Linked DNA regions of Homo sapiens: regions 2, 3, 4, 5 and 6 are each linked to region 1. The links are contacts of gene promoters, found by promoter capture Hi-C in blood cells and fetal thymus (Javierre and others, 2016). All regions are on one chromosome and are shown on one strand. Each heading gives the region's core, a stretch centred on a gene start or on the middle of the fragment in contact. The rest is flanking DNA. Distances are from core to core; before and after follow the strand shown.

Region 1 (4,326 bases), core at 1,517-4,016:
ATTCAATAGGCTTAAAAGAAAATCCAGCCTGGCCAACATGGTGAAACCCCATCTCTACTAAAAAATACAAAAATTAGCCAGGCACAGTGGAGCACGCCTGTGGTCCTAGCTACTCGGGAGGCTGAGGCAGGAGAATCGCTTGAACCCGGGAGGCAGAGGTTGCAGTGGGCCAAGACTGCACCACTGCACTCCAGCCTAGGTGACAGAGCGAGACTCTCTCAAAAAAAAAAAAAAAAAAAAAAAAAAAAAGTAAATCAATGATCATTGCCAGTTTTATTTTTTTGAGATGGAGTCTTTCTCTGTTGCCCAGGCTGGAGTGCAGTGGCATGATCTCGGCTCACTGCAAGCTCCGCCTTCCGGGTTCACACCATTCTCCTGCCTCAGCCTCCCGAGTAGCTGGGACTACAGGCATCTGGCACCACGCCCGGCTAAGTTTTTTGTATTTTTATTAGAGATGGGGTTTCACCCTGTTAGCCAGAATGGTCTCGATCTCCTGACCTCGTGATCCGTCCACCTCCGCCTCCCAAAGCGCTGAGATTACAGGCATGAGGCACCCTGCCCGGCCTGGGATCATTGACAATTTTATTAACCACAAGGTCTATACCTTGCACACAGTAGGCTTGTAATAGATGTCAGTTATCAATAAGGAGAAGATATATTTTCCAGTGCCTGGCACACTATAGCCCCAAATAGATGCCAGTTTTTAGTATTACTGATAATAAGGTGTGATTTGCAGCCAGAGCACAGTAGGCCTAAATGATAGATCCTCACTGCAACTACGCTTGGCACACAGGAGACAGCAGTAGAGGTTAGCAGTACTTCCTATTAGATACTATGTCATCACCCCCATAGAGTAATCCATGGGATTTAACTTGGCATACAGTAGGCCCCAAATAGGCATTAGGTGGTCAGTATTATTTTGTTGTTTTTTTTGGATTTTTTTCAGACAGGGTCTCCATGTGTCGGCCAGGCTGGAGTGCAGTGGCACAATCTCGGCTCACTGCACCCTTGACATCCTAGGCTCAAGAGATCCTCTCACCTCAGCCTCCCAAGTAGCTGGGACTACAGGCATGCACCACAACACACGATTAATTTTTGTATTTTTTGTAAAGACGGGGTTTTGCCATGTTGCTCAGGCTAATCTCTTAATCCCTAAACTCAAGCAATCTACCCGCCTCAGCCTCCTAAAGTGCTGGGAATGCCAGCTTGAGCCGCCACGCCCAGCCAGTCAGTATTGTTAAGAATGAAATATCTGCCGGGCACAGTGGCTTATGCCTGTAATCCCAACCCTTTGGAAAGCCAAGGGTGGGGGGTGGATCACCTGAGGTCAGGAGTTAGAGGCCAGCCTAGCCAACATGGTGAAACCCGTCTCTACTAAAAATGCAAAAATCAGCCGGGTGTGGTATCACGTGCCTGTAATCCCAGCTACTTGGGAGGCTGAGACAGGAAAATCGCTTGAGCCCGGGAGGCGGAGGTTGCAGTGAGACGAGATCACGCCACAGCACTCCAGCCTGGGCGACAGACCGAGACTCTGTCTCAAAAAAAAAAAAAAAAAAATTGCCAGGTGTGGTGGGGCGGGGCGTGCCTGTAGTCCCAACTACTCGGGAAGTTAAGGCAGGAGAATCGCTTGAACCTGGAAGGCGGAGGTTTTAGTGAGCCGAGATCGCGCCACTGCACTCCAGCCTGGGTGCACAATAAGACTCTGCCTCAAAAAAAAAAAAAAAAAAAAAAAAAAAAAAAAAAAAAAAGAATGAAATATCTATTCCCCCAACCCCCTCCACTTGACACGCGGTAGGGATGGATGTCAGGAATCCACATTGTTAACAACGAAAAATGCCTGCCACCCCATTGCTTGGTGCACAGTTGGCCCATGCTAGGTATCAAGCGTCAGTATCAACAACAAAAGTGCCTGTCGAGGCTGGCACGTGTTAGGACCATCTGCTTTTAGCTGTCTCACCAGGCTCCAGATGTTTGAGGATGCCTCTCTTGGCCAAGCGGGTCTGCAGCGCAACGGGCAGCGGCATAGCTGATAGCAGACAGACCTAGGGACAGACGAACAAACTGACAAGCAGCTCAGATAAAGATTCCTATCTGGATCCCGTAACCAAGCGCCTCCCGTAAACATGTACTCATCTGACTCCGATCTACTCAAATGAACCAGTAGCTGGGTGGACAGAACATACGCACTAAAAGATGTAAGAGGTAGGTGGCAATATCATCGCAACTCCCACCAACCCTACTGTCCCCGAAACCAGGTGCTCCAGGGCCCTGTTCCTCTCCCAGGCCCAGGCTCCGCCCACAGCCTAAGAAGCCCGGCCCCTCCGCACTTCAGAAATGGGCTCATCCAGCGTCCCCATGACTGCCGGGTGGGAGAAACCAAAGCGCTGGGATGGGGGAGCAGAGGGCAGCACTTCCTCCAGCTCCAAAAGAGTGCACCCACCCCAACGTTACCAATACACTCGTGCAGGTAGTGGAAGGCTGTCACACCGCCCGTCTCTCTCGTGTCGCCGCTACGATACCTGGGCCCACACGACTCTCTTCCCAAAACACCGAATGAGACCTTCTCTCAACGAGGCCTTCACTCCCCGAGCCTGAAAGTAACTGGACTACGCTCAGGAGGCAATGAACAAATGGCAGAAACTCGATTGGCCAATGAGAGTGCGTCCTTGGCGTGACATGCGGTATAGCGACCCAATCGCTGCCCGGTAATAGGCGGAAAGCTCCGACGCCGGTGTGCGTCTACGCTGGGGGCGTGGCCTGACTGCGCGGCCAGACGCCAGCGCCATGGAGGAGTACGCTCGGGAGCCCTGGTACGGCAATGGGCACAGGCATCCGGAATATTGCTGCGACGCCAAGGCCAGCCGTGGGGGTCGGGCGGGGGAGGCATCGGCCGCACAGAGCCATGTACCAGACTCGGGGGACTCTTAACGTATCTCCCGCTACCCCCACTCGGTTCCTGTCATTCGGGCTCCGTTATGAGGGGCCACAACCAGAGAAGGTGCGGCGAAGGCCGAACCACGCCATGTTTCTCCTGACTTCGTAATCTCCTAGCCCTGTTAACGAAAAAAGACACGCTGGACGATCCATCCCGGCTAGGGGTGGTACGGTGTTGACCGGAAATCCCCAGAGTTGCCGCCAGTGGTTTTTCCCAGGTCGCCTTTGTCAGTGGGGGGCGGGGCACGGATGAACCTGTTGAGGGCCGGCGGGGACGGTGGATGCTTCCCGCGGTCGCTCTTGGTTTTTCCCAGTTGTGCCGGATTGAAAAGGGGCGGGGCATGGTTGGACGGGCTCACCGTCGGAGAAGGGGTGCGACGCGGTCCTGCTTTGCTGACAGTCTGTCTTGGCTAGTTAACACGCCTATGTCGCTTATTGAAACGTCAACTCTGCGTGTGCCAATTCATTTAATCTTTGATCACAGTAAAACCGTTGGCTGATTCCTTGGTTGGTAGACAGGGCGAAGACTAATATTTCTCCCCCTTTGCCCCATTTCTCGCTTTAATGGGGGGGTGTGTGGAAAAAGCGTGACAGAACTAGCTCATTATTATCTGAAGTGTTTGTTCCTACTTAGGAACTTCCCATTCTGGTGACTTGGTTTCTCCCAGTTAGAAAAGAGTTCGTGTGACAGGACCTGGGGGAGGGCTCACATTAACCCCGTCCTTCCCTTCCTGCTTGCAGCCCATGGCGAATTGTGGATGATTGCGGTGGAGCCTTCACTATGGGTGTCATCGGTGGCGGAGTCTTCCAGGCCATCAAGGGTTTCCGCAATGCCCCTGTTGTGAGTCCAGGCCTTCCCTGGGTTGGTGTGGGGTTAGCTATCTTGCCCACAAGGGAGGCTGCTCTGAAAACTGCTTGGAGCTGCCAGTCACGTGCACTTATTCATTCTGGTGCCCACTCACCTACTATGTGCCGAGCCTGGCTCCTGTATCTGGGATTTTGTAGGGATTGCAAACATGGCCTCTGTCTTCCACCCTCCACCCCACCCAACTGGAGCTCCTCTGTGGAAATGCTGTGTCGTTCAAAGAGTCATCACCAAATTTTAAATGTATGTGCAAAGCCAGACAGTTTTTTTTTTTTTTGAGACAGTCTTGCTCTGTTGCCCAGGCTAGAGTGCAGTGGCACGCTCTTGGCTCACTGCAACCTCTGCCTCCTGGGTTCAGGCAATTCTCCTGTCTCAGCCTCCCAAGTAGCTGGGACTACAGGCATGTGCCACCAGACCTGACGAATTTTTGTAATTTTAGTAGAAATGGGGTTTCACTATGTTGGCCAGGCTGGCCTTGAACTCTGGACCTCAGGTGATCCACCTACCTCGGCCTCCCAAAGTGCTGG
Region 2 (4,326 bases), core at 602-3,101, 240 kb after region 1:
TTTGTATTTTTAGTAGAGATGGTGTTTCACCATGTTAGTCAGGCTGGTCTCAAACTCCTGACCTCAAGTGATCCACCCACCTTGGCCTCCCAAAGTGCTGGGATTATAGGTGTGAGCCACTGCACCTGGCTGAGCTTCTTTTCTTTATAAATTACCTGGTCTGTGGTATTCTGTTATAGCAACAGAAAACAGACTAAGACATAAATTTGGGTGCATGCGCTAGAAAAATCCTATATTGCCACCAGGTGCGGTGGCTCACACCTGTAATCCCAGCACTTTGGGAGGCCGAGGTGGATGGATTATGAGGTCAGGAGTTTGAGACCAACTTGACCACCACGGTGAAACCCCATCTCCACTAAAAATACAAAAAAAAAAAAAAAAATTAGCCGGGCGTGGTGGCGCACACCTGTAATCTCAGCTACTCAGGAGGCTGAGGCAGGAGAATTGCTTGAACCAGGGAGGTGGAGGTTGCAGTGAGCCAAGATTGCGCCACTGCACTCCAGCCTGGGCAACAGAGCAAGACTCCATCTAAAAAAAAGAAAAAGGAAAAAAAGAAAAATCCTATATTGCCATTGAATGGACCTTTAAAGGTGATTCTGATGAGCAGTCAGAAAGAAATGAGGAGAGCTGTAGAGAAAGCTTCTGCTTTCTTAAAGAATACATAAGTAATCATGAACAGATTGGTGGTAGAAATATGGGTGGTTAAAGGCTGTTCTGATGTGGTCTCAGGTAGAAATGAGGAACGTGTTATTGGACAGTGGAGAAAAGGTGATCCTTGTTATAAAGTAGCAAAGAACCTGGCTGAATTGTGTTTACGTTTTAGTGTTTTGTAGAGGGTAGGACTTGTGAACAGTGAAATGGAGATTTAGCTGAGGAGATCTCTAAGCAAAGTGTTGAAAGGAGAGGCTTGGTTCCTCCTGACTGCTTATAGTCAAATTTGAGAAGAGAGATATGAATTGAAAACAGAATTGTTATGCAAAAAGGAACCAGAACTTAAACTTACCCAAGCTATGAGGGTGACATTGCTCCCTCAGTGGGTCTGGAAAATTCTCAGCCTGTCCCTGTCCATATTACAAAACATGACAAAGCATGTTTGGAAGAGAACACTAAGGATCTGCTGGACTATTTGACAAGGAGATTACTGTGAATGTGAACTGTGGACTTCATTAACCATCTCAACAAAACAGCAATAGCGATGGGATTGTACTGGAAATGGCACTGCTGACTGGGACTAAAGGAAACAGAGAAAATGGGACAAAATGGCTGGGCACAGTGGCTCATGCCTGTAATCCCAACACTTTGGGATGCTGAGGCGGGTGGATCACCTGAGATCAGGAGTTCAAGACCAGCCTCACCAACATGGTGAAACCCTGTCTCTACTGAAAATACAAAAATTAGCCGGGTGCGGTGGTGCACGCCTGTAATCCCAGCTACTTGGGAGGCTGAGGCAGGAGAATCACTTGAACCCAGGAGGCGGAGGTTGCAGTGAGCTGAGATTGCACCACTGCACTCCAGCCTGGGTGCTGGGCAACAGAGGGAGACTCTGTCTCAAAAAAAAAAAAGAAAAAGAAAAAAAGAAAATGGGACAAAATGAAGGAAGATGATTAAACTTCTTAGATCCTATAGGACCAAACCATAGAACTATTCGGCTGTGAACACACACTGTTCTTCAAGATAAGGGAAGAAGAACCCTGAAGGTGATTCAGAGACCGTCCAGGTCACCAGTCCCATCAGAGGCCCAGAGTACATGGGCTTAGGGCATAGGACTACCTGCACCTCCATTTCTTTTTTTTTTTTTTTTTTGAGACAGAGTCTCGCTCTGTCATCCAGGCTGGAGTGCAGTGGCACAATCTTGGCTCACTGCAAACTCCGCCTCCCAGGTTCATGCCATTCTCCCACCTCAGCCTCCCAAGTAGCTGGGACTACAGGCGCCCACCACCACGCCCAGCTAATTTTTTGTATTTTTAGTAGAGACGGGGTTTCACCCTGTTAGCCAGGATGGTCTCGATCTCCTGACCTTGTGACTGGCCTGTCCTGGCCTCCCAAAGTGCTGGGATTACAGGTGTGAGCCACCACTCCCAGCCTCCACCTCCATTTCAAAGGGTGAGACCAATGCCCAGTAGAGCGGTGGGGATGGAGGCTCCCAGCAGAGCCCTGAGGCTACAACTCCTGCCCTGACAACCACAGCATGAGCAGTGAGTGCTGCCAAACTGTTGTTACCGGGCCGGGGGGTGGGGGTCCTTGCTTCCAGAGCTCCCAAGATGGTGGTGGGCTGCTTCCAAGATGGTGGCAAGCCTCGGGTTCTCTGACCTGGGGTTCTTGGCCTCACGGATTCCAAGGAATGGAGTCTTGGGCCATGCGTGAGTGTTATAGCTCTATTAAAAGCCGTGGGTCACGGAAGAGAACCGTGGAACCCAGTGACTAGTGTTCAGCTCGATTAGGACAAACACAGGCACTTAGCCATGCAGGAACAATGGCAAGCCTTTAGCCCGATCGGGAGCAGCAGTGGACGGCTTGCTGGATCAGGAGCACAGCGGACACCCTGCCGGATCTGGAGGGATGGAAGTCAATGGCGGGTCTGCGACGGCGGCAAACAGCAGTGGTGGACTGCAAGTGAAAGCTCAGCTCGAGCCGTAACAAACACGGACCAGAAGAGAGTGCAGCTGCAAGATTTAATAGAGTGAAAACAGAGCTCCCATACAAAGGGAGGAGACCCAAAGAGGGTAGCCGTTGCGGGCTCGAATGCCTGGGTTTATATCCCTATCATTGTCCCTCCCGCTGTGCTCTCAGGTGATAGATGATTAGCTATTTCTTTACCTCCTGTTTTTGCCTAATTAGCATTTTAGTGAGCTCTCTTTACTCCCTGATTGGTCGGGTGTGAGCTAAGTTGCAAGCCCCGTGTTTAAAGGTGGATTGCGGTCACCTTCCCACCTAGGCTTAGGGATTCTTAGTCAGCCTAGGAAATCCAGCTAGTCCTGTCTCTCACTGTGAGGGTGACATTGCCCCCTCAGTGGGTCTGGCATGAGGGACTGACACCCCAGTAGGTCTGGAGGCAAAGCTTCAAGCCAAAGAGGATTACCTGAGTCTCAAGATCTCACAGAACTTCCCTTGCTAGGTTTTGGACTTGCTTGGGACTTGTCACCCCGTCCTCCTTCCCTGTTTCTCCCTTTTGGAATGGGAATGTTTATAGACCCTCTTTGTGTCCCATCATTGTATTTTGGAAGCAAATACTTTGGTTTCTTTTAAGCAGCTGAAGAGGAATTTTGCTTCAGGGTGAGTTTCACCCATACCTGATTTAGATGATCTTTAGATGAGACTTTTGGCTTTAGACTTTAGAGTTCATACTGGAATGAGTTAAGATTTGGGGGGATGTTTGGATGGAATTGAATGTAGTTTGCATGTGAGAAGCACATGAATTGTCGGGGGCAGGCAGGTGTTGGAAGGCAATGGACTGAATGTTTGTGTTTTCCTGTCTTAGTCCAGTTTCTGTTGCTTATAACAGAATACCTGAAACTGGGTAATTTTAAAGGAAATGAATTTCTTTCTTACAGTTGTGGGGGCTGAGAAGTCTAAGGTCAAGGGGCTGCATCTGGTGGGGGACTTTTTGCTGGTGAGGACTCTGAAGAGTCCTGAGACAGTGCAGGGTATCACTTGGCAAGGGGCTGAGCGTGCTAGCTCAGATCCCTCCTCCTCCCTCCTGTTCCTCTTCTTCCTTTCTTTCTTTTTTTTTTTTTTTTGAGACAGAGTCTTGCTTTGTTGCCCAGGCTGGAGTGCAGTGGTGTGATCTCAGTTCACTGCAGCCTCCACCTCCTGGGTTCAAGAGATTCTCCTGCCTCAGCCACCCGAGTAGCTGGGATTACAGGCATGTGGCACCATGCCTGGCTAATTTTTGTATTTTTAGTAGAGATGGGGGTTTTGCCATGTTGCCCAGGCTGGTCTCGAACTCCCGACCTCAAGTGATCTGCCCACCTCAGCCTCCCAAGGTGCTGGGATTATAGGCATGAGCTACTGTGCCTGGCCTTAAAATACTTTCTAAAATGCTTAGATATTAGAGCTGCAAGGGCCCCTAGAGATCATCTGTGTCAGGGAGGACAAACCCTTTCTCTCACATCTTTATTCCTCACAACCCATGCTCAGGGCAGACATTGATATTTTGACTCAACCTGAAGATTTTTCTCATCCCTCACTTGGGACAGCTATTAAGCAGCCACCAGAGTTAGCACCTGGGGTTAGATTGTTTTAAAATATAACCAAGAATCTTTAAAAATTGAGGTATGGTGAGCCCAGCAGATCACAAGGCAACTGCCATTGAAAAGATAGTTTGTT
Region 3 (4,326 bases), core at 1,235-3,734, 200 kb after region 1:
GGGGGAATGGAGAAGAGACGGATTCTCTAAAACGAGTTGCAGATCATAAAAGGGCTTTACCACCTGGTGGAAGAGTGGGGACTCTCTCCTAAGGGCCACAACATGAGGGTGGAATATGTCAAGATCAGTCTCCCTTCACCTCCTGGAGAACAGTCTTCCTTGTGGCATCAGCTCAAACAGATGGGACCTCTCTAGGCAGCCTTCCAAGCTTCCCGTTCCTCCCCTACCTCAGAAGCTGGCCACTTGTCTGATCAAGTCCTGGGATCAAAGGGCAGCCTCTCCCAGGCTCACAGGCCTAGTGGGTGGGGTATGAGCCATCTTTTTCACCGTAGGCCCTCCTTGAGCCAGGAGGAGTGCCCACATCCTTCCTAGTCTCCATCTTCATGCCTATTCTGCCACTACCTGCTCTCCCAGTCTCACCAGGAGTGAGTCATACTGCAGGCCCTCCAGGGCACAAACACTTCTTGGTTCCTTCTCATCTTCTTTTCAGTCCCATTCTCTAATGATTGGTCAACCCTGAAAGCTTGGGAACAGATGGGCCTGTCTCTGCTCCCTAACAGCTCTCCAGAATGAATGGAAAAGACAGGCTGTAAGCTGGCAGTTCCGAGAGGGTGCTGACGTGAATGGGAACTAGAAGACTTGGAGTCAGCTGCTGCTCTGCCCCCTCCTGGATATGGGATCCTGAATGTTCTCTCTGTGCCTGTTTCCTCAGCTAAAAAAAAAAAAAAAAAGCTACAGCCTGGCAGGGTACCAGTTTTAGATATTATTTGGGCCTTTATTTTTTTATCCATTGTACTACTTTTGTGATTTTAATCAAGTTATTCTACCTCTCTGGGCCTCAGTTTTCTCATCTGCAGAATGGGAATGACAGTGACAAAATCCCAACCTGACAGGGGCTGTTGTAAAGATCCATACAAGATCATGGACGTGAAAGGTGTTCCTGTTTCTGATAGGAGAGTGAGCAATGTTAGGAGTGGTTATGAGGACCAGTTATAAATGTAAGGCACACCCTTAATTTTATGTGCCCTTTACCAAGAAAGGAAAAACTGCTGTTAATTATAAATGATACACCATGATTTAATTAAGACATCTTCATTTCCGAGATGTTAAAATAGGAAGAAAATGCATGTTTTAGAATGGATAAAATAGGCTGGCATTGTCTCTTGGGTGAGGATGGGAATGTTCTGCAGGAACGTGAAAGTTCTGACCCAATGTGGGAGGCTGCAAAGGAGGGAAGGGCAGCTCCCGTGGAGGGAGCTCTTGGTACAGACTGTCAGTACATGTCCCAGCTGAAGAAGGACAGTAGATAGCATGGTGTGCAGATAGGCCCTTGATTCCGTAACACCCTGGCAGCATCTGGGACGGCACTACAGAATCAAGTAAATTAGAACTGCTGCAACGAAATGTATGACTATTACCCCAAGTAGGATAAATAAAAACTACAAATAGGACCCTATCCGGTCAGGCTGGGTCCTGTAGCCAGATGGGTTACAAAAAAACTTGGTCTTCCAGACATTTTGGATTTGCTGAAGTTTGAACTATGCTGATAACATTTGTATCAAACTTACTGTGTACTGAACACTGTTCAAGTGCTTTTTCCAAGTGCTTGATACATAGTAACTCATTTAATTTTTGTAACAAGCCTGTGAGGTGAGTGCTATTATTGTTCCCATTTTACATAGTAAATGCAGGCACAGAGGTTAGTGATTGCTGATGAGTAGTGGAGCTGGGATTCAGCCTCGGGCAGTCAGGATCCAGAGTCCACCCTCCTAACCATTTGCTATACTGTCTCTTCAGAGGGGAATGCGGGAAGATGAGTTTGGCTCTTTCCGGAGGCCTGTGGCACCATCAGGAGGACCCATGGGTCTGAGGGTGCTGGAGGGCGGTCAGGAAATAGTGCAGCAAGAATGTGTGGAGAGCAGGAAGGGTGAGGACAGGGCTGAGAGGATCCCTGGGAGGATTAAAGACACTGACACTAAGGAAGAGCAGCCAGAAAAGTCTCAGGCCCAGGAGGGTCTGAGGCTGCCCTTGGGGTGTAGTCTTCCTCCTCGACTGTCAGGACCCTGTGTGGTAGACAGTGTTTCCTCCAGATGCCAGTACAGTGAGGCTGAGATACTTCCTGCTCTGTGCAGCCCCTAGGACGGTGGACTGTCTGGGTCCTATGGGGTCTGGACATCTCCTCCAGAGAGTTTGGGTTCCTTCAACCTCTGGACACTTCCTCCAGAGCGTCAGGACATTGAGGGCATGGACACTTCCCCCGATACTGTCAGGGTGCCCTTGGGTGTAGACTAGATCTCCAGGCTGTCCGGATCCCTCTGGGGTGAGGACACTTCTTTTTCCTGTCATGACAACATGGGTGTGAACACTTCCTAAGTCAGACCACCAGGTCCTCTAGAGTGTGGAGAGCACAAGCTCTTCCTCCAGGTCACTGGGGTCACTGTGGGACATGGACTTCCTGCAGATTATCAGGACTCCTTCCCCCGCCCACTGTCAGGAGCCCTCAGGGTGTGGACACCTCCCCACCTCCTCCTTCCAGATGGCCAGGTCCTGTGGCATGTAGACATCTCCTCCAGCAGGCCAGCAGGGTTATCTGGACAGGGTGTGGCTGTCTCCTTGCCCAGACTGTCAGGGTCCTCTGTGGTGTAGATTGTTCTACCCAAGATTGTCTCTGTCCCTGTCAGATGTGACCCTCTGTACAGTTTCTCAGAGTAGGAGCCTCTCCTTGTCATCAGTATCAGTGCTACAGTGTGGACACCCTCATGTGAGTGTTCCTCAGGCCAGTTTCTGTCACTTTCCAACTATATCACACCCCTAAGGGACCTATGGCTATATATAGAGGTATCTGGGGTTGTCACTATGACAGGGCACACTCATGGATTTAAATGGTCAAGGTCCAGGGATGCTAAATGTCCCCCAATGCATGAGACAGTTCTACATAACGAAAAATCATCTCATCCCAAATGCTAACTGCATCCCATCTTAGAATGCGACATTTTTCTGTTGTAGATACTTGCTAGTTATCTAGTTGCTAGTTATGGCTGTGCTTTAGCCTTGTGCAGCTGGGCACATGGCTAAAGCACATCCTGTTGCCTCTCTTGCATGGAGGTAAGGCCAGTGACTCAGTTCCAGCCAGTGGAGCATGGGCAGAAGTGATGGGTGCTGCATCTAGGCCTGGCCCACTAGGATGGGCCCCTTCTATCCCCCACTTGGCCCGCCTGCCAGGCAATGCTGAGGATCTGGTAGTGACTCCAAGGCTTCAAGGCACAGCAAAGGCACAGGAGGGAAAGAGCCTAGGTGTCCCAGTTGCTGTGTGAAAGGATACCCACTCAAACCCCCACAATGGACTGTTCCATGAGCAAGCAAACTTGTAATGTGCAAAGTCACTAAGATGAGGGGGTTGTTTTTACAATGGCTGGCTTGCCTAATACACTCGGCCTTCCCCAGTGTCCTGAAAGTCTAAAGGAGTTAGCCAACCTTTGTCCAAGGCATGTCTCATCCTACTCCAGACTGCGTTCCTTCTGTGCAGACTGGTAAAACAATGCTCCTCAGGCAGATACTGCTTGGTGATAAGATGGGCCCTTGTGAAATGAGAAGAGGAAGTGCCTTTCCAGCTGATGCAGCCCTATGCCAGACCACATGGCCTGTTACAAGGAATGCTAAGGCTGCCTGGATCTCAGCTCCCACTTTTCTTCTTTGCTAAGTACCCTGATAAAGTCAACCCAGTGCAGAAGTATTTTGGTGTTCCTGTAACCACCAGCATGGCCATGCTGGTGTGTACCAGCTTGGAATACTAGCCCCTGCCCAATGTCCCTGTGACACTCAGATCAGTCTCCCAGGCCTTTCCCATAGGGAAAGCAGGGAGTTTCAGACACACAGTGAGGAGAGCCGGGTGCACACTGTGAACACAGGGTGGGAAGAGCTGCACACACACACCGGGTCCCATCTCCCTACCTCTCCCACGTACTCCATGACGAAGCTGTTCTTGCGAATCTTCTCCAGGGTGCGGACGCCCCAGCCACGCCCATCATCCGTGCGGAAGATGCAGAGGTCATATCGGATACCCTTCTGTACCACACGATTTGGGCAGTCATAGCCGCAGCGGCAGCGGGAGTTGCACTCGTAGATGGGCAGCCCGGCTCGAAGCCGCACCTGGCCCTGGTCATTGTAGGCAAACTTGTGCAGTGACGCCCCCGGGCAGCAGCCTCCAGTGGGTGCCCACAGACAGTCCTGGCACTCGCAGCCCACAGCCACCTGGTTGAGGGTGATGCCCTCACCAACACGGTACTCATTGATGTACACGAAGGCCCGCGGAGGGCCGTCCAGGTC
Region 4 (4,326 bases), core at 1,608-4,107, 180 kb before region 1:
AGACTCCATCTTAAAAAAAAAGAAAGAAAGAAAAAGAAAAACCAAGAGAGTGAGAGGAAGAAATTGTGGGTTTCACTAGAAAGTCACAGGAGAGGGCAGAGAAGTGATTGCTGGTTTGGCAAGATTATTATTCATCAGTGGTCTGGTTAAGAGCAGTCCCAAAGACACAGGAGTGACAAACACCAAATTGAATTGAGTTGAATATGGTCTGGGACATGAGGAAGTGGAGTCTGAAGAAAGCCAGATGATTGGCCTTGTTGAGGAGCACAGTAATGGAATCATGCCAAGGGGAGTATATAGGGCCAAAATTCACAAGTAAATATATACATGGGAATTGACGACACAGTATCTGAAACAACCTAGGCAGCCATCAGTTGGGGAAGGGCTGAACAATGCTACATAATATCATGAACCAGTTAAAAAGGATGAGTTAAAAAGATGTTCTTATATATTAATATATGAAAAAACAGAAGCATCAAAACAATACTTCAAAAAAAGTAAAGGGGGGATTTCATCAATGTGAAACCCTGATTGTATTAAAAGTATGAGATTTCTCTGTATTTTTTCTTTAATATTCAGTCTTCATAGACTGTCAAAAATTGCCAATGCCGACTATATTGCAAGTCTTCGGGGCGGGGTATTGGGAAGTTTCCAATTAGCAATATCCACACCTTGGCTAAACCTCATTGGCTATGATACTGCCACTGCAAAAAGCATATTTCTTTTTTTTCAAGAATATTCTTTTTTTTTTTTTTTTTTTGGAGACAGGGTTTCCCTCTGTTGCCCAGGCTGGAGTGCAGTGGCGCGATCTTGGCTCACTGCAACCTCTGCCTTCTGGGTTCCAATGATTCTCCTGCCTCAGCCTCCCAAGTAGGGGACTTACAGGTGCCCGCCACCACGCCCGGCTAATTTTTTGTATTTTAGTAGAGAGGAGGTTTCACCGTGTTACCCAGGGTGGTCTCAAACCCCTGAGCTCAGGCAATCCACCTGCCTCGGCCTCCCAAATTGCTGGGATTACAGGCATGCACCACCATGCCCAGCCCTTTTTTTTTGAGACGGGAATTTCGCTCGTCTCCCAGGCTGGAGTGCAATGGCAGGATCTGGGCTTGCTGCAACCTCCGCCTCCTAGGTTTAAGTGGTTCTCCTGCCTCAGCCTCCCCAGTAGCTAGGATTACAGGCGCGTGTCACCACGCCCGGCTTTTTTTTTTTTTTTCGAGACAGAGTCTCACTCTATTACCCAGGCTGGAGTGCAGTGGTGCGATCTCTGCTCACTGCAACCTCCTCCTCCTGGCTTCAAGTGATTCTCCTGCCTCAGCCTCCCGAGTAGCTGGGACTACAGGCACGCACCACCATGCCTGGCTAACTTTTTGTATTTTTAGTAGAGAGGGGGTTTCACCATGCTGGCCAGGCTGATCTCGAACTCCTGACCTCATGATCTGCCTGCTTCGGCCTCCCAAAGTGCTGGGATTACAGGCGTGAGCCACCGCGCCCAGCCTATTTATTATTTCTTAATGTAAAGTTTAATTAAAAATCCTTCCAGCCGGGCGCAGTGGCTCACGCCTGTAATCCCAACACTTTGGGGGGCCGAGGCAGGCGGATCACCTGAGGTCAGGAGTTCAAGACCAGACTGATCAACAGGGAGAAACCCGGTCTCTACTAAAAATACAAAATTAGCTGGGCGTGGTGGCACATGCCTGTAATCCCAGCTACTTGGGAGGCTGGGGAGGCTGAGGCAGAAGAATCCCTTGAACCCGGGAGGCGGAGGTTGTGGTGAGCCAAGATCGCGCTAATTGCACTCCAGCCTGGGCAAAAAGAGCCAAACTCTGTTAATCAAAAAAAAAAAAAAAAAAAAAAATTCCTTCCAGTATGCATATAATTTGGGGCCTTTTTTTAAAAGCTTTATCATAGGTAGGACCTCTTTTTTTTTTTTTTTTTAACCCAAAGCATTCATACCTTTTACTATCAAAAAGCTATTTTGTATTTTGTAAAAATAAAAGCAGAGGCCGGGCGTGGTAGCTTAAGCCTGTAATCCCAGCACTTTGGGAGGCCGAGGTGGGTGGATAACCTGAGGTCAAGAGTTCGAGACCAGCCTGACCAACATGGTGAAACCCCGTCTCTACTAAAAATACAAAAATTAGATGGGCGTGGTGGCGCACGCCTGCAGTCCCAGCTACTCCGGAGGCTGAGGCAGGATAACCGTTTGAACCCGGGAGGCGGAGGTTGCAGTGAGCCGAGATCGCGCCACTGCACTCCAGCCTGGGAGACAGAGCGAGACTCTGTCTCAGAAAACAAAACTAAACAAAACACAAAAGACAAAACTCAGAGCTGGCGGGGTTGGGGGGACAGGGTGGGGAGAAAGAAAGCGAAATCTGTTCCTTGGCTTCCCGGAGCCAAGGAGGTTTCTCCACTTTCAAGGTCTCCAGGTCCGCCCCCGCCTGTAACCCCCAGCGCCGCCCCTCTGGAAGCCTGGGAGGACTGTGTGTTGCGAACCGGGGCGGCTACTCTCGGCCGCCGCGGAGGTCCGCGTCTTGTTAGCAGGGAAGGTTTACTCCCCCATTGTGGGTGACCAAGGGGCTGAGGGCTTGGCCGGTTTCGCTTTGCTGGGGGCAAGGCACGCTCTCTCTCCCCACCCTTCCGGGTTCCCTCAGACAGTCTCGGCCTTGAGGAACCCCCTTCGCCTCCGGTCCCCCAGCCAACCTTCCTCCGCTCCCCGCGCCCTCCCCGGAGAACCCCACTGTCACTCGCGATGCTCCGAAGACCCGGGAACTAGGCGAGGAAGGCGGTGGCCGCCTTTTTCCAGCTGGGGTGAGTCATTTCCTGCGACAGGCTCCCTCCCCCGGAAGTAGGGCCTGATGTAAACACCCGAGCCGGGCTCCAAGGCCCGGGAGGTCAGAAAACCGGGCCGCGGGCGGCACCGACAGCTGGGGCCCGGGTCAGGGACACGCGGAGGTCAGGCCGGTGAAGGCGGCAGGAAGCTGGAGCACGATCCCAGGGTTGGTTGGGTCTGGGGGAGGCTGGAAGTCTTTCGAGTAGGGGTCTAAGGCAGAGGTCTTGAGTGGGTGCTGGCGTTGGAAGGAGCATGCGGCTGGTCTTGGGAGAGGGGCGAGGCATCCCGGACAGAGTCTTGGAATGGAGGTGCAAAAAAGGGGTGTTGAAAGTTGGAGCTGTCCAGAGAATAACTCTAAGGCAGAGCTGTCCAAAGAAAGAGCATGAGGCATTCCAGTGGAGGGTGTAACTGAAAGAAAGGAAGGAGATTTGGACTCTTGGAGGATGGGGGAGGGAGTATGTCTGGCCAGAGTTATTGGGGAGTTGAGGATTTGAAGGGAAGTTGGGGGCTCTATGGCAGTAATCTTAGTAGGGGACTGCGCAGGCATCTTAGGGGTTGAGGTTCTCCTAGGTAGGAGTTTTGGGTGGTTTGTTTTGGGCAAGGGTCTTAGAAGGCAAGGGTGCCCTGGGGCGGGGTCTTGGATAGGGGTCTAGAGGGGGAATCTTAGGAGGATGGGGGGGGTTCCTGGGGTTGGGTCCAGGCCAGGTTATGTTGTAGTCAAGGACAGCAGAACACAAGGAAGGAGATGTCCCAGGGGTGGAAAATTTAGAGTGCTAGGGGGAATCCTAGGGTAGAGTCCCCAGGGCATAAGCCAATCTAAGGGAATGTCTAGGCTGGCCCTGAAGGGTAGTTACCAAGGCATGAGAAGGGGTCATCCCAAGGTAGGCATCCTGAAGGAGTTTGGGGAAGCCGGTTGAGGGGGAAAGGTGTGAGAGGACTCTGGGGTGGTCAAATAGGTTGGGGTACAGTTAGAAGGGTATGAGCAGAGGAGTTCCTGGGGATGGCAGACCAAGCATAGCAGTCCCAGGGCCAAGTCAGGGAGGTACAAGAAGTGCATCTCCTAGCCCACTTTTGTCTATTTATTGAGAGAGTCCGGTGCTAGGTCAGGTTTGAAGATGAGAAATGGGTTGGGAGTGGTTCCAGGCCATGTCTGGCATTGGGATCAAGATTGGCTGGCGGTGGGGAGGAGATATCACGGGGGCACCCCCTATCACATTACTTCCTGACAAGTCAGTGAGGGCCAGCATGTAAAGAGGAGGTGTGGGGTCCACGTCAGTGTGGGCCTGGAGCTTGCCAAACCTGAAAGAAGGAGGGTTCCTGGCCATGTTGTTTGGGATCTTGGGAGCTTAGAGCAGAGACCCTGGGACTCTCTGTTTTTATCTTTTTCTTCCCCCCGAGACGGAGTCTCGCTCTGTCACCCAGGCTGGAATGCAATGGCTCGATTTCGGCTCACTGCCATCTCAGCCTCTCGGGTTCAAGCAATTCTCCTGCCTCAGCCT
Region 5 (4,326 bases), core at 843-3,342, 140 kb after region 1:
TCTGAGCCCCTTGGTCAAGCACGGTGGCTCACGCCTGTAATCCCAGCACTTTGGGAGGCCAAGGTGGACGGATTACTTGAGGCTGGGAGTTCGAGACCAGCCTGGCCAACATGGTAAAGCTCCATCTCTACTAAAAATACAAAAATTACCCAGGCATGGTGGTGTGCACCTGTAGTCCCAGCTATTCAGGAGCCTGAGGCAGGAGAATAGTTTGAACCCGGGAGGCGGAGGTTGCAGTGAGCCGAGATCGCGCCATTGCACTCCAGCCTGGGTGACAGAGTGAGACTCTGTTTAAAAAAAAAAAAGTTCTGAGCCCCAGGGTGTGATGTTCCTGAATTATTTTGGGGGATGAGTTTTGGGGGATGAGATTTGCAGTCTTCCTCCTCCTCCCCACTCACCCTTCACTCACCCTCACCTTCCGCTGCTGAGAGTCAGAGAACATTCATCAGCCCAGTTGCTGTTCACTTTACCCTGAGCAGAACTCCCCCATCTCCCTTACAGGTTACTTGTCTGGCCCCTGGAGCATGTGAGTTTGAGATTTTTGTTTCTAGTTACCCCCAACACAAACACTTTGTGTTGTGGATATTGTTTTGTTTTTGTTTTTTTTTGAGACAGTGTCTCACTTTGTCACCCATGCTGGAGCCCACTGGCGCCATGATGGCTCAGTGCAGCCTCAAACTCCTGGGCTCAAGGGATCCTCCTGCCTCAGCCTCCTGGGTAGCTGGGACTACAGGTGTGTGTCACCACGCCTGGCTAATTTTTGTATTTTTAGTAGGGATGAGGTCTTGCTATGTTGCCTACAATTGGCCTGCTTTGGCCTCCTGAAGTGTTGGGATTACAGGCGTGAGCCACCGTGCCCGGCCAGATATTGTTTTTAAGCATATGATTTTCCTTTAAAAAGAGTTACACAAATAATATGTGAATACAGGTTTGTATAAAAGATTTGAAAAACAGGCTGAGGGTGGTGGCTCACACCTGTAATTCCAGCACTTTGGGAGGCTAAGGCGGGTGGATCAATTGAGATCAGGAGTTCAAGACCAGCCTGGCCAATATGGTGAAACCCCCATCTCTACTAAAAATACAAAAATTAGCCGGGCATGGTGGCACGCAGCTGTAATCCCAGCTACTCGGGAGGCTGAGGCACAAGAATCACTTGAATTGGTGGCAGAGGTTGCAGTGGGCTGAGATCGTGCCACTGTACTCCAGCCTGGATGACAGAAGGAGACTCTTTCTCTCGAAAAAAAAAAAAAAAAAAAAGATTTGAACAACACATCAGTACATGGACTCTAGCAATCATCTCTATCCCCATTCCCCCAGAATGACCACTGGGGTCAGATTCTGGTGTTTCCTTCCAGATACAGTTCCCTGTGTTTCCATAGTGTGTGTGTGCGCACACTACACACATGCACTAGGTCACTGTAACTGACTCCCCCTTGCTTTTCCCTGCCTATAGCACATCCTGTAGAAGATAACCCCCACCCTTGCAGGTACACACAAGTCCCATCCATTCTGTGTCACGTCCAGTGGGCACTCTGTGCTGTAACATGAACCCTCATTATTCGTTTCACTCTGCAATAGTCCTTGGGTATCAGTGAACATTTACAAGATTTTCCTGGTTGTTTGTTCCTACCAGCCTTGTTCCCACAGCTCTGTGCACATGTCTGAGTACTAGAATTAGAAGTGGAATTGCTGGGTGTATTAGAGTTCTCCAGAGAAACAGAACCAGTAGGAGAAACAGAACCAATATGTAATATATTACAAGGATTGGCTCCTGTGATTTTGGAAGCTGAGAAGTTCCACAATATGCCATCAGCAAGCTGGAGACCCAGGAGAGCCAGTGGTGTTGTTCTGAGAACCAAAGGGCTGATGGTGTTGGCTGGGCATGGTGTCTCACGCCTGTAATCCCAGCGTTTTGGGAGGCCAAGGTGGTTGGATCACTTGAGGTCAGGAATTCAAGACCAGCCTGGCTAACATGGCAAAACCCCATCCCTACTAAAAATACAAAAATTATCTGGGCGTGGTGGCGCACACCTGTAATCTCAGCTACTCAGGAGGCTGAGGCAGGAGAATCGCTTGAACCTGGGAGGTGGAGGTTGCAGTGAGCCGAGATTGTGCCACTGCACTTCAGCCTGGGTGACAGAGCAAGACTCTGTCTCTAAAAAACAAAACAAAACAAAACAAAAAAAGGGCTGATGGTGTAAGTACCAGCCAAGGGCAAAGGACTGGTGTTCTACCTCAAGCAGTCACGCAGAGAGCAAATTCCACCTTCCTCCGTCTTTTTTGTTCTATTCCAACCTTCAGTGGATTGGGTGATGCCCATTTACAATGGGCAGAGCCATCTGCCTTACTCAGTCCAACAATTCATATGCTAACCTCATCTGGAAACACCCTCACAGATCCACCCAGAAATAATATTCAACAGGGCACCCTGGGTCCCTATCAAGTTGACACAAAATTTACCATCACAAGTCCACCCCTTATTAACTGTCCTTTTCCACTGTCCTTCAGAGGTGTCTCAGAAAGGGGCCATAGTGCTTCAGCTGTCCACTTTCAGAGTGTGCCTGCATAACATGCAGAATCATCTGTAAACCAGGCCCAAGTCTTCTCTTCCTCTGTCAACTAATTGTAGGGAACTCCCCATGAGGCCACAGTTGCAGGCTGGGAGAAAGGAGGCAAGGTAGAAGGAGTGGGGACCATGGGCATTTAGGCCTCTTCCTCATGTAACTTACTTGTGTCTTCAGGGCCTGCTTAGGCCCCATCACATATTTCCCATTTCCATTCGACGATGGAGCACTGCTGGGCACACCGACTCTTGGTTAGTCAGGTAACACCCAGTTCATGATGGGCAGGAATGATGTAACTTGGTGGCCCATGGTCAAGTATTTAGTTTCTACTAAGACCCAGTAGCAGACCAAGAGCTGTTTCTCTCTCTCTCTCTTTTTTTTTTTTTTTTTTGAGACAGGGTCTCACTTTGTCACCCAGGCTGCACTGCAGTGGCACAATTACAGCTCACTACAGCCTCGACCTCCTGGGCTCAAGCGATCTTCCCACCTCAGCTTCCTGAGTAGGTGGGACTACAGGCATGCACCACCCCACCCAGCTATTAATAATTTTTGTATTTTTTTGTAGAGATGGATTTTTGCCATGTTGCCCAGGGTGGTCTCGAACTCCTGTGCTCAAGAGAGAGATGTGTTGGCCTCAACCTCCCAAAGTGCTGGGATTAAAGGAGTGATCCACCACACCCAGCCAAGAGCTGTTTCTCAAAAGGAGGGTAGTTATCTGCAGAGAATAGCAGGGCTTTGCTCCAAAATCCTAAAGGAGGCTCACCAAATTTCATTTGGGGGGCTGAGACGTGTGGATTGCCTGAGCCCAAGAGTTCGAGACCAGCCTCGGGAACATTGGGAAACCCTATCTCTACAAAAAATACAAAAGTTAGCCAGATGTGGTGGTGCACACCTGCAGTCAGTCCCAGCTACTAGGGAGGCTGAAGTGGGAGGATCACCTGAGCCTGAAAGGTCAAGGCTGCAGTGAGCTGTGTTGTGCCACTGCACTCCAGCCTGGGTGACAGAGCAAGACCCTGTCTCAAAAAATAAAATAAAACAAAATCCTAGAGGGCTAGGCTATGACTAACTTATAGCGGCCTGCCAAGAGCTCCAAACAGTATCCCTATCTGCCACTGTCACTTCAAGCACCACTGGATCTCCTGGGTCCTATGGCCCAAGTGGCAAAGTAGCTTGCACAGCAGCCTGGACATGTTGCAGAGCCTTCTCCTGTTCTGGGCCCCACACAAAACTTGCAGCTTTTCAGGTCATTTGGTAAACGGGCATGTGTAACATACCCAAATGAGGAATGTGTTGCTTCCAAAATCCAAATAGGTGTGCCAGGCATTGTGCCTCTTTTTTGATTGTAGGAGGGGCCAGATGCAACTACTTATCCTTCATCTTAGAAGGAATATATTGGCTGGGTGCAGTGGCTCACGCCTGTAATCCCAGCACTTTGGGAGGCTGAGGCGGACGGATCATGAGGTCAGGAGTTTGAGACCAACCTGACCAACGTGGTGAAACCCCATCTCTACTAAAAATACAAAAATTAGCTGGGCATGGTGGCGTGTGCCTGTAATCCCAGCTACTCAGGAGGCTGAGGCAGGAGAATCGCTTGAACAGGGAGGTGGAGTTTGCAGTGAGCCGAGATTGCATCATTGCACTCCAGCCTGGGTGACAGAGCGAGACTCCATCTCAAAAAAAAAAAAAAAAAAAAAAAGAATATGTTGACAGACCTCACACCACTGGACTCCTAGAAATTTCACTGAGGTAGAAGATCCCTGAA
Region 6 (4,326 bases), core at 227-2,726, 130 kb before region 1:
CCTCACCCCTCCCCTGGGACTTTCCCACCCAGGAAAGGAGGACCAGTCAGGATGAGGCCCCGCCTTTTCCCCCACCCTCCCATGAGACTGCCCTGCCCAGGTATCCTGGGGGAAGAGGAGATGTGATCAGGCCCCACCCCTGTAATCAGGCAAGGAGGAGGAGTCAGATGAGGCCCTGCACCTTCCCCAAAGGAACCGCCCAGTGCAGGTATTTCAGAAGGAGAAGGCTGGAGAAGGACATGAGATCAGGGCCTGCCCCCTGGGGATCACAGCCTCACCCCTGCCCCTGTGGGACTCATCCTTGCCCAGGTGAGGGAAGGAGACAGGATGAGGTCTCGACCCTGTCCCCTAGGGACTGTCCTAGCCAGGTCTCCTGGGAAAGGGAGATGTCAGGATGTTGCTCCATCCTTTGTCTTGGAACCACCAGTCTAGTCCGTCCTGGCACAGAAGAGGAGTCAAGTAATGGAGGTCCCAGCCCTGGGGGTTTAAGCTCTGCCCCTTCCCCATGAACCCTGCCCTGCTCTGCCCAGGCAAGGAACAGAAGTGAGGATGAGACCCAGCCCCTTCCCCTGGGAACTCTCCTGGCCTTCTAGGAATGGAGGAGCCAGGCCCCACCCCTTCCCTATAGGAACAGCCCAGCACAGGTATTTCAGGTGTGAAAGAATCAGTAGGACCAGGCCACCGCTAGTGCTTGTGGAGATCACAGCCCCACCCTTGTCCCTCAGCAACATCCCATCTAAGCATTCCACACTGCAGGGAGGAGTGGTACTTAAGCTCCCCTGCCTTAACCTGGGACCAACCTGACCTAACCTAGGAGGGCTCTGAGCCAACCTTGCTCTTGGGGAAGGGGACAGATTATGAAATTTCATGGATGAATTTTCCAGACCTATATCTGGAGTGAGAGGCCCCCACCCTTGGGCAGAGTCCTGCCTTCTTCCTTGAGGGGCAGTTTGGGAAGGTGATGGGTATTAGTGGGGGACTGAGTTCAGGTTACCAGAACCAGTACCTCAGTATTCTTTTTCAACATGTAGGGCAAGAGGATGAAGGAAGGGGCTATCCTGGGACCTCCCCAGCCCAGGAAAAACTGGAAGCCTTCCCCCAGCAAGGCAGAAGCTTGGAGGAGGGTTGTAAAAGCATATTGTACCCCCTCATTTGTTTATCTGATTTTTTTATTGCTCCGCATACTGAGAATCTAGGCCACCCCAACCTCTGTTCCCCACCCAGTTCTTCATTTGGAGGAATCACCCCATTTCAGAGTTATCAAGAGACACTCCCCCCTCCATTCCCACCCCTCATACCTACACCCAAGGTTGTCAGCTTTGGATTGCTGGGGCCAGGCCCCATGGAGGGTATACTGAGGGGTCTATAGGTTTGTGATTAAAATAATAAAAGCTAGGCGTGTTTGATGCGCTTTTAACTTTGGCAAAGAGTCTCCTGTCCTTGTTTTACACTGTGCAGTGAACATAGCCCATGCAGGCCAAGAGGGATAAAAGTCCTTGGGAGAAACAGATTCCAGAAGGATGGATAAAAGAATTTAGAAAGGAAGAGGGCATGGAGGAAGACAATATGCAAACAAAAGACAGTATTTTTAAAGACCAATCACCAGGCACAATTTTAACTGCTGCAAGTGTTTCATCTAATTTATTTCTCTAAAGGGATGTTAGTCAGAACATGCTGCTTCTTACTTCCATTTGGTCTTTGAAGAAGCTGAGGAATAGAATTGAACTGTTCTGAAGATATGCAAGCCTGTAAATGGGTGAGGCGGTAAAACAGTAAAGTCAGGTGAGTGAGGGCTCGATTGAAAAATGCCACTGAGGGCAGAGGGGGAAAGAAGCTTTTCTTGCAAATCCACTTTTGAAACTGATAAAGAAGTCTATGAGGATATTTCCTGGCAGACAACAGAGGTATTTAAGATGGTGGAAAGGACAAAGACAAATATCTGAAAGGCAGAGGAACAAGCAACCAACTGAATTTTGGAACAGATGTTGAGATTTTGGGAGAATTTAAATGAACACAAGTATCTTCTTGAAGGCTGGGAAAAAGTATTTTCCCGCAATTTCTCAACCAGACACTGACTCCTAGAACAAGCATCAGGCCTGGTCCCTCCATTTCCCCCACCAGACTGTGACCTCTGAGGGCTGGAACTGGGCTTGGTCACCGTGACTACCCTAGACTGTGACCACCATACTTGTTATCTCTTTTTTTTTTTTTTGAGACAATCTCGCCCTGTCACCCAGGCTGGAGTGCAGTGGCATGATCTCGGCTCACTGCAACCTCTGCCTCCCAGGTTCAGGTAATTATCTTGTCTCAACCTCTCTAGTTGCGATTACAGGCATCTGCCACCACACCCAGCTAATTTTTTGTGTTTTTAGTAGAGACGGGGTTTCACCATGATGGCCAGGCTGGTTTCGAACTCCTGACCTCAAGTGATCTGCCTGCCTCGGCCTCCCAAAGTGCTGGGATTAGAGGTGTAAGCCACCACACCCGACCCTTGCTAGCTCTTTCTAACCTATCACACTGCTACCCCTCCAAGCCTGGTTGCTGAATCTCTGTAACCAGACTGATGGCTCCCTAATAACCTTTATTTTTTCTCCTCAACTTTGCTGTACTCTCTCTCTTTTTTTTTTTTTTTTTTTTTTGAAACGGAGTCTCACTCTATTGCCCAGACTGGAGTGCAGTGGCATGATCTCTGCTAACTGCAACCTCTGCCTCCCAGGTTCAAGCGATTCACGTGCCTCAGCCTCCCAAGTACCTGGGATTACAGACGCGCAACCACGCCCAGCTAATTTTTGTATTTTTAGTAGAGACAGGGTCTCACCATGTTGCCCAGGCTAGTCTCAAACTCCTGGCCTCAAGTGATATACCTGCCGTGGCCTCCCAAAGTGGGATTACAGGCATAAACCACCATACCTGGCCCTATACTCTCTTATTTTATTTTATTTTATTTTATTTTATTTATTTATTTATTTATTTTGAAACAGGGTTTCCCTCTGTCACCCAGGCTGGGGTGCAATGGCGCGATCTCAGCTCACTGCAACCTCCGCCTCCCGGGTTCAAGCGATTCTCCTGCCTCAGCCTCCTGAGTACCTGGGATTACAGGCATGTGCCACCACACCTGGCAAATTTTAGGTACTTTTCTTTTTTTTTATATGGAGTCTCGCTCTTTTGCCCAAGCTGGAGTGCAGTGGCACGGTCTCGGCTCACTGCAACCTCCACCTCCCAGGCTCAAGCAATTCTCCTGCCTCAGCCTCCCGAGTAGCTGGGATTACAGGCACCTGTCACCGCGCCTGGCTAATTTTTGTATTTTTATTAGAGACAGGATTTCACCATGTTGGTCAGGCTGGTCTCAAACTCCTGACCTCGTGATCGCCCACTTCGGCCTCCCAGAGTGCTGGAATTACAGGGGTGAGCTACTGTGCCCGGCCTTTTTTTTTTTTTTTTAAAGACAGAGTCTCGCTCTGTCGTCCAGGCTGGAGTGCAATGGTGCGATCTCGGCTCACTGCAACCTCTGCCTCCCAGGTTCAAGTGATTCTCCTGCCTCAGCCTTGCGAGTAGCTGGGATTACAGACATGTGCCACTACTGCTCAGCTAATTTTTGTATTTTTAGTAGAGATGGGGTTTCACCATGTTGGCCAGGCTGGTCTTGAACTCCTGACTTCAAATGATCCGCCTGCCTTGGCCTCCCAAATTGCTGGGATTACAGACATGAGCCACGGCCCCTGGCCCAATCTTTTGTACTTTTAGCAGAGACCAAGGTTTCACCATGTTGGTCAGGCTGGTCTCGCATTCGTGACCTCAGATGATTCGCCCGCCTCGGCCTCCCAAATTGTTGGGATTACAGGCATGAGCCACCGTGCCTGGCCTCTTCTTTATTTTTTAAACGTAACATGTAATGCCCAGAGGTTTTTTTTTGGGGGGGGAAGGGGGTACAGGGTCTCACTGTCACCCAGACTGGAGTGCAGTGGCATGATCTTGGCTCACCACAACTTCCAACTCCCAGGTTCAAGCGATTCTCCTGCCTCAGCCTCCCGAGTAGCTGGGATTACAGACACATGCCACTACTGCCCGGCTAATTTTTGTATTTTTAGTAGAGATGGGTTTTCACCATGTTGGCCAGGCTGGTTTTGAACTCCTGATCTCAAATGATCCAACTGCCTCGGCCTCCCAAAGTGCTGGGATTACAGGTGTGAGCCACTGCACCTGGCCTCCCAGAGGTGTGTTTTTTTGTTTTTGTTTTTGTTTTTGTTTGAGGCGAAGTCTCACTCTGTCGCCCAGGCTGGAGTGCAATGGTGGGATCTTGGCTCATTGCAACCTCCGGCTCCTGGG

The links. Contacts are between HindIII fragments. The CHiCAGO score rates a contact against its expected background, and 5 or more counts as called.
Region 2: a contact is called between a fragment that was not itself captured here and the fragment with the promoter of TIMM17B in region 1, in 11 of 17 cell types (naive CD4 T cells, activated CD4 T cells, non-activated CD4 T cells and 8 more). The highest score is 14.7, in naive CD4 T cells.
Region 3: a fragment that was not itself captured here is called in contact with the fragment with the promoter of TIMM17B in region 1 in 4 of 17 cell types (naive B cells, naive CD4 T cells, total CD8 T cells and 1 more); the score reaches 6.6 in naive B cells.
Region 4: the fragment with the promoter of WDR45 here is called in contact with the fragment with the promoter of TIMM17B in region 1 in 11 of 17 cell types (neutrophils, fetal thymus, non-activated CD4 T cells and 8 more); the score reaches 14.5 in neutrophils.
Region 5: a contact is called between a fragment that was not itself captured here and the fragment with the promoter of TIMM17B in region 1, in 1 of 17 cell types (megakaryocytes). The highest score is 5.2, in megakaryocytes.
Region 6: a contact is called between a fragment that was not itself captured here and the fragment with the promoter of TIMM17B in region 1, in 1 of 17 cell types (non-activated CD4 T cells). The highest score is 5.8, in non-activated CD4 T cells.

What each region holds. Positions count from the first base shown.
Region 1 is chrX:48,896,208-48,900,533 of GRCh38, reverse strand. It overlaps TIMM17B (translocase of inner mitochondrial membrane 17B), which reads left to right and starts at 2,766. Exons shown (of 6, transcript NM_001395498.1): 1 at 2,766-2,810; 2 at 3,676-3,775. The coding sequence starts at 2,785. PQBP1 (polyglutamine binding protein 1) reads right to left here and starts at 2,604. Exons shown (of 7, transcript NM_001032382.2): 1 at 2,452-2,604; 2 at 1,958-2,042. The coding sequence starts at 2,024. RefSeq lists enhancers at 1,941-2,160, 2,211-2,580, 2,871-3,070, 3,101-3,250. The HindIII fragment of the contact is 9,862 bases long and covers 1-4,326 here.
Region 2 is chrX:48,653,184-48,657,509 of GRCh38, reverse strand. The region is part of intron 1 of LOC124905186 (a long non-coding RNA gene); the gene reads right to left. Among named protein-coding and RNA genes, the nearest start is that of WAS, 28 kb to the left of the region's middle. The HindIII fragment of the contact is 2,419 bases long and covers 642-3,060 here.
Region 3 is chrX:48,700,379-48,704,704 of GRCh38, reverse strand. SUV39H1 (SUV39H1 histone lysine methyltransferase) reads right to left here. Exons shown (of 6, transcript NM_003173.4): 3 at 3,952-4,326. Among named protein-coding and RNA genes, the nearest start is that of SUV39H1, 5.8 kb to the right of the region's middle. The HindIII fragment of the contact is 3,918 bases long and covers 526-4,326 here.
Region 4 is chrX:49,078,418-49,082,743 of GRCh38, reverse strand. WDR45 (WD repeat domain 45) reads left to right here and starts at 2,857. Exons shown (of 11, transcript NM_001029896.2): 1 at 2,857-2,993. It also overlaps the pseudogene RNU4-52P. RefSeq lists silencers at 2,088-2,157, 2,400-2,694 and enhancers at 2,400-2,694, 2,406-2,906. The HindIII fragment of the contact is 3,362 bases long and covers 1,900-4,326 here.
Region 5 is chrX:48,756,743-48,761,068 of GRCh38, reverse strand. No RefSeq gene overlaps it. Among named protein-coding and RNA genes, the nearest start is that of GLOD5, 2.8 kb to the left of the region's middle. The HindIII fragment of the contact is 5,282 bases long and covers 1-4,326 here.
Region 6 is chrX:49,025,827-49,030,152 of GRCh38, reverse strand. TFE3 (transcription factor binding to IGHM enhancer 3) reads left to right here. Exons shown (of 10, transcript NM_006521.6): 10 at 1-1,427. Among named protein-coding and RNA genes, the nearest start is that of TFE3, 15 kb to the left of the region's middle. The HindIII fragment of the contact is 721 bases long and covers 1,116-1,836 here.